Regions from separate parts of the Homo sapiens genome. Here region 2 is linked to region 1. The links are contacts of gene promoters, found by promoter capture Hi-C in human tissues and cell types (Jung and others, 2019). All regions are on one chromosome and are shown on one strand. Each heading gives the region's core, a stretch centred on a gene start or on the middle of the fragment in contact. The rest is flanking DNA. Distances are from core to core; before and after follow the strand shown. Region 1 holds the start of HELT (helt bHLH transcription factor). Region 2 overlaps SORBS2 (sorbin and SH3 domain containing 2).

The links. The method cuts DNA at HindIII sites, captures the fragments that hold promoters and counts their contacts. A contact is called where the count stands out against the background at its distance.
Region 2: a fragment that was not itself captured here is called in contact with the fragment with the promoter of HELT in region 1 in 1 of the 25 tissues and cell types used here (lymphoblastoid cells).

Annotation. Positions count from the first base shown.
Region 1 is chr4:185,017,232-185,020,721 of GRCh38, forward strand. HELT (helt bHLH transcription factor) reads left to right here and starts at 1,259. Exons shown (of 4, transcript NM_001300781.2): 1 at 1,259-1,724; 2 at 2,156-2,260; 3 at 2,516-2,612; 4 at 3,042-3,490. The coding sequence starts at 1,698. RefSeq lists enhancers at 509-1,089, 1,090-1,668, 1,669-2,248, 2,963-3,490. The HindIII fragment of the contact is 22,587 bases long and covers 1-3,490 here.
Region 2 is chr4:185,594,490-185,597,887 of GRCh38, forward strand. All of the region lies in intron 24 of SORBS2 (sorbin and SH3 domain containing 2), which reads right to left. Among named protein-coding and RNA genes, the nearest start is that of SORBS2-AS1, 8.3 kb to the left of the region's middle. The HindIII fragment of the contact is 3,647 bases long and covers 1-3,288 here.

The DNA.
Region 1 (3,490 bases), core at 9-2,508:
TGTTCGTGCCTTCCCTCCCTCCTCCTCCCCCCGATATTTTCGCTTTCTAAAACCATAAAAAAGAGATCAACTTCCCAAACTTCACAGGGCCCTTTTCAGTGACAAATATTGATGCCCAAAGTGTCTGCGCTCTCCCGCCCCCAAACGTTAAGAAAAGACGCCAGCGAAAGGGAGACATAAAAAGTTAACAATGCTGTGAAAATATGTTTGCAGAAAATAGACAATCGTTGGATTAAACGTATTCAAGTATGAAATAATGCCTTTTTGTGTCAAAACTTGGGCGATGGGCGGGTACAAAAGTTCCCTGTGGCAGCTACTTGCTCCCTTTGTGAGCCGTGCGCTTTGGCGTCTCCACTTGGGCGCATTACTCAGAGCCCTCTAAGCGCGATTGTTTCTCCCTTTCTAATGACATTTACCGGATCAAAACATGCTGTTAATTCGATCAGAAGGCTTCACCCTCCCTGACAAAGCCACAATAATTTCTCCTGAAGTTTGTTAAATTGACCAAAATTAGGCAAATGAATAGGGGTCTGTAGGCGCCCCCTCTCGCAGGTGACGTTGCATAATGCTTGCCTGGGCCAGCTGCATTCCCCCTTTTCTTCTCGGCCCACTCTTCTCCGTGTTGCCCCCCAATCCTCCCACCCGCCCCTTCACACACAAACACACACACACGCCCGCCAGTCTCTCCTCCCCCACCCTCTGGCATTATTAAAATTTAGCCCAATGAAACTATTCATACTTTTCAATGGACATTTTCGTATAGGATAATAGGCTACAAATTGAGCCTCTTCCCCCCGCGAAGAGGGAGCAGGAGGGGTGGGGAGAAAAGAAAGCCAGCGACGTGGTCAGGGAGTAGGGGGGAGCGTCGCGTGCCAAACAGCGGCGGGAGGGGCGAGGCGAGGCGAGGCGGGAGCCTCGTGTGCCAGCCGCAGCCCCACACCTGCCGGGATGTCCGGACAAATAAAGCGGTGTAAACAAAAAGGGGGGAGAAGGACGTGTCACCAAGTCGTGTGAGAAAAGCCTGGGAACAAACGGGGCGCCTCCGTCTCCAAGAGCTCTCCCTTGAACCCGGCGGAACAGCCTATTAAAGGCTTACTTAATTACTTTAATGACTCTGGACAGGCTTTAAAACGCACTCGGCGCTGGGACGGCGGGCTTGCTGGGATTTGTAAACAGGCGATCATGTGAGACTCAGCGGTGGGACTAAAAGAGGCGACACTGTTTTGTGAGGGTCCTCGCCCCCCGGTGCCCGCGGCCGCTGCGCCCCTGCGCTCCGCGCCCGCGACTGCTGCAGGCGCTTGCTCGCCCGCCGGCCCCAGTTTACCGCCTCCTTTTCCCGCCCGAGCTGTTGCCATGCAAATGTTATTCCTGGGCCGATCACGTGTCCTTTGAAGGGCCACGTGGATTAACAAAGCTGATCTGCCCCCAGCTCGCCCCCCTCGGCTGCTAATTTTTTTTTTTTCTTAACTTCTTTAAAACTGATCTTGAATGCATACATCCTCCAAACGCAGCTCCCCTAATCCTATGGAATAATTCAACTCGTGAATGCATCTGGAGCCCTAGATGACCGCTTTATAAGGCAGCCCTCGGAGTTGGGAGGCTGCAGTCTACCTGGGACACTCGAGGAGGCACACGAGGCGGAAAAGTGGACGGGTGCCCCGCGCCACCGCCTCTCCCGAGGGCGCGTACTGACCAGGATGTCAGACAAGCTCAAGGAACGCAAAGTGAGTCGGCTGAGCCCAAATGGCACTTGCGCCCTGGTGGTGGAGGCATCTGACTCACCGACCCGCCACTTGGGTGGACCGATGGCAGGGAAGTGCCCGCACGGGACTTTGAGTGTGGAGGAATCTCGAGTGGTTTGGGAAGGGGGTGGGGTAGAGAGAGGAGGGTGCTCAACCAGGTAGAAGTCCTGCCTGGAGGCTGGCGGCCACCTCCCCAAAGGCCTGGGTAGGGTGGCTGGAAGGGGAGCGCGCCAGCGCGGGCGTCAGAAGGCAGAGCTCACCTGGCCCGAGCGTGGCGGGCCAGGAGTCCCTTCCTAGAGCGAATCTGAGCAGTGTGCGCGGCTGGAGAGGCGGCTTGCACCCAGCTGCTAGAGCCGCGCCTTTGACGACTTCCCGGGCAAAGCCATCCTAAACATACAACCCTCTCTTCGCAGAGAACCCCCGTTTCTCATAAAGTGATAGAAAAGCGGAGGAGGGACAGGATCAACCGCTGCTTGAACGAGCTGGGCAAGACAGTGCCCATGGCCTTGGCGAAGCAGGTAACGTTGGCGACCCGGAGCCGGGTGCCAGGCGTTGGGAGGCCTCTGCGGCCACTCTGCGGAGACGCCCGAGCCCGCGGACACAGAGGACCTCACTTGCGGGCCCCTCCCAGGCGGGGGGCCTGAGCGCAGGGCGAACCTCAGGAGGCTCTGGCGCAGATCCGCAGCCGCGTCCGCTCGCTGGTCCTCTCCAGCGCCACAGTGCCCGACCAGCAGGCGCTGGGCCGCTGCGAGGGGCCCTTCCTCCTTTTGCAGAGTTCCGGGAAGCTGGAGAAGGCGGAGATCCTCGAGATGACCGTTCAGTACCTGAGAGCACTGCACTCCGCTGATTTTCCCCGGGGAAGGGAAAAAGGTGGGCACAGGTTAGGGAATGGGACGCCTGGGCCAGGCGCCTGCGCCACCCAGAGACCCTGGGGCTGGGAGGGGAGTGACTGAGTGTTCCCGAGAGCTCTACTAGAGCTCCACTCTCCAGGAGGGCAGGGGTCCTGCGAAGGCGCCTCTCCCTGCTCGGCGACAGCAAGGCGGCGAGGGAGAACTGGTTCCCAGGGAGGCTGGTTCCACCTCCTTCTCCCGGGTGGGGTGGGTGGGGTCAGGCTCTCAGGGAAAGAGGGCGTTTGCGCGTGCCTCGCCAGTCTCTAAGACTGCGCAGAGGAGAGGGCGGGCCTCAAATGGGAACTTTGGCCAGAAAATGTGGTGGGAGGTGCCCTGCACCCGCTTTGGGCTCGCGTGGGGAAGGGGCACTCAGGGTGTGTCCGTCCTACGGGCTTTCTCGTTCCTCCAGCAGAACTTCTAGCGGAGTTTGCCAACTACTTCCACTATGGCTACCACGAGTGCATGAAGAACCTGGTGCATTACCTCACCACGGTGGAGCGGATGGAGACCAAGGACACGAAGTACGCGCGCATCCTCGCCTTCTTGCAGTCCAAGGCCCGCCTGGGCGCGGAGCCCGCCTTTCCGCCGCTGGGTTCGCTCCCGGAGCCGGATTTCTCCTATCAGCTGCACCCTGCGGGGCCCGAATTCGCTGGTCACAGCCCGGGCGAGGCCGCTGTGTTCCCGCAGGGCTCTGGTGCCGGGCCTTTCCCCTGGCCGCCTGGCGCGGCCCGCAGCCCCGCGCTGCCCTACCTGCCCAGCGCGCCAGTGCCGCTCGCTAGCCCAGCGCAGCAGCACAGCCCCTTCCTGACACCGGTGCAGGGCCTGGACCGGCATTACCTCAACCTGATCGGCCACGCG
Region 2 (3,398 bases), core at 215-2,714, 580 kb after region 1:
CATGCATTTTTAAAAAGAGAAAACAGAACTTTGGAATGCAACGAACAATATCCGGGTAACATGTAACATTTTACCTTAGAAGAGAAACATTGGTAGAAATTTCCAGTGCACTGAACTCTCAAAAGAGTTTCTTTTCTTTTTAAACTAAGCATCAAGACCAGTATCTGTAATAGATACTTATAATATTGGAAATGACAAGCCTTAGCATCCCATATACCCACATTAATATTTTCAGTGAATGAAAGTTAACATGTTTGTTGAATATATAAACTCAGTGTAATTTATATTGACTACCTAAACTTTACCTTTTAGGGGAGAAATGCAAACAAATCATTCATAATCCATTTCAAAAGCATTTGCTTCTAAATGATAGCTACAGGGTAAAATCAGAATTTGCATGGCAATTATATAAGTGACTGTTTGATGACTACTGAAATAGCTATTAGATCCATGTCCTTAGACTTTGGGACCAGTTCTTAGATTTCCATAGTTATGAGTGGATTACTGATAGGCTGAAATCTCTTGCTGCCAATTGTCCATAGAAACCCCACTGATCCAAGCTTGGATGGATAATTCTGAGGTTCCTTTCAGTCTACGAGTCAATGATTCACCCACTTCCTAAATTCTTTATCCACCCCCTTTCTATCCTACTTGTCTATCTAGCATAAGACTAGGTACTCACAGTACTAAAACTGTAAGCTCTGACTCGGTTAACTGGAAACCTTTATTAACAGTGTTCTTAGAAATTTCACTCAACAGTCTGTGGATAGAATATTTAAAACTAGAGTGCGTAAGAATTACTGCACACAATTATGACTTAAGAGTGAAATAGTTTACTCCTGTAAATCAATATGACTACTAATGATGTATCTATTATTAAAATTGGAAGATATTCATATTTTAAGAAAAATTATGACTAACCAGTTTTCCAACCATCTTAAAGGTCATTTAATTCAAGATATTATTAAATCAATTTAAATATATAAGATGGTAATTGTAAGTCATTGATAAGCCTGTATCATATTACCTATTTCAAGTTCTCTTCCAGTCCAATAAAACTTTATATATGTATAAAACTTTCATGCAGAAGTAAGATTTGTATACATCAATTGCCATTAATATTATTTTGTAATAACTTTCCAGTCTTTTTTTCTCAGTCTTCTTTCTTATTTCAAATGTCTGCAGAATAATGTTCTCCCACGTGTGTCTACATATCATAGTTTTCTTAACCATTCCTCTCTTTTTTTTTTAGTTTTGAAGTTAGAATTGGTCTAGTCTTTTTTTTTTTGCTATCATAAACAGCAATGCTATACACATTTTTTATGCAAAGAGCTATTTTCTTCTTTTGAACTATTCTTTAGAATATATTCCCAGGAGTAAAACTTCTGGCCAAAGAGTATGCATTAAAGCCATATGATTTTGAGAATGTACATGTTAGTCACTGAAAAATACTGTACTCAAAAGTAACTTGAAAATGTCTAATATGCCAGACTGCATATCATATACCAAGATAGCTACTACTCTTTCCCCAAAACAATCATAGCACCATTTGCAGTGCATAATAAAGTTATGAATAAGAAAATATTATTTATTCTTGTCTTAAGAGAAAATGTTGTGTAAAATATATTTCATTATGCTCTAAAATTGGCATCCCTGTTTTCACACATTTAAACCATTTTAATATTTTAAAATTGAGTAAAAGTTTCAACTTCTACATCATGGCATCCAATGCTTTGTAAAACTGGTTAGTTTCATTTCATTGCTCTTTTGTTAAAATGTGAATACCACTTTAAAAATCAAATTGTTCATTAATGTAAAACAATCAACTTTTAAAGTCCGTATATCCCTTTTTAGTTATCATCATTATAATTCTACTAGTTTAATTCCTTTAACTCAACCCACCTCATCAATCATTTAACTGAACTGTCCCATTGACCATTATGAAAATTTGGTGATTGCTGCAAACCTGCAGCTTCCTGGATCCCACGTCCATGGCTGGAGAACGTATGTTCCTGTGTGGGGCAGCCAGCACCGTCCTTGCTTTTTTTTTTTTTTTTTTTTTTTGAGATGGAGTCTCACTCTGCCACCAGGCTAGAGGTCAGTGGTGTGATCTTGGCTCACTGCAACCTCTGCCTCCCGGGTTCAAGCGATTCTCCTGCCTCAGCCTCCCGAGTAGCTGGGACTACAGGCACGCACCACCGTGCCCAGCTAATTTTTGTATTTTTAGTAGAGACAGGGTTTCACCATGTTAGCCAGGATGGTCTCGATCTCCTGACCTTGTGATCTTCCCGCCTTGGCCTCCTAAAGTGCTGGGATTACAGGCGTGAGTCACTGCGCCCGGCCCCCGTCCTTGCTTTTACCTGTTTCCCAATTTCTCTTTTCCCTTCCTTCATATCTTTCAAACCCTGCCCCTCTTTTTACACACAAATCATCAGTTTTCTATACTGTTCACATCCTGAGGCCAGAATCAATCAAGACTTTTCGTAGCAGAGAAGTTGTGTGTGTCTTATAATGGCGAGTTTTAGAACTTTTCAAAGCTTACCTTTAACAAGAATCACCTCCATGTTAATGTGGATAACTAGGAGACAGTTTTGAGGAAAGCTGACTAATTACAGTACTTGAAATAGTTTATTTTAAAGGCATTTGACTAGTAGGGAATGAGTAGCAAGAACAGTTATCTAAGACGGCTCATCTGCGTCTTTCTGTTTTGGGCGTTAAGCACCATATAACCTTGGGGATGCCTCAGCTTCCCTATCTCTGAAATCAATGAGTTGGACAAGATGAGGGTTAATCGGGTCCCCTCAGGGATTCCATGAAGGATACACATTTCCACAGATGTATTTCCTCTGCTGTGTAAAGGTGTCCGTCATCAGTTTTACACAGAGAGCTGGGACACTGACATTGATTGGTTAATTCTCATGTGTCTCGGTCACGTAAAAAAAAATAATGGTTACAATTCAACTCCATTTTGCAGAATGGTAAACCAAAACCCAAAGATACTGGATAATTTCTTAATACGACAAATAGGTAAAAAACAAACAGAAAAAGAAACAAAATGGTAATTTCGATGTGCACGCTATTGCATGAAAGATTACTATGATGGACTACTTGGCCTACCTTGGCTAAAATCAGCATCTTAATTTTGACGCTGAGGTAGGTGCAAATGTCCTATAAGGTGATGTAAATAGATTATCTGGGGAGACTGTCTTTCGCCCTTTCCCCTTGGTGATGTAACTCAAATGGCAAGTCGCTTAAGCAGAGATTTGTAATGCAGCTGCACTCTGTCGCCACCTAGTGGTGAGCAATGGCAGCAACAAGCTGAGAGTTGTTTCTGCTTTATCTGCCCCTTTTTATCCAAGTTCCCAAGGCTGGAAAAATTTTAAAAGCCTATTTTAAAG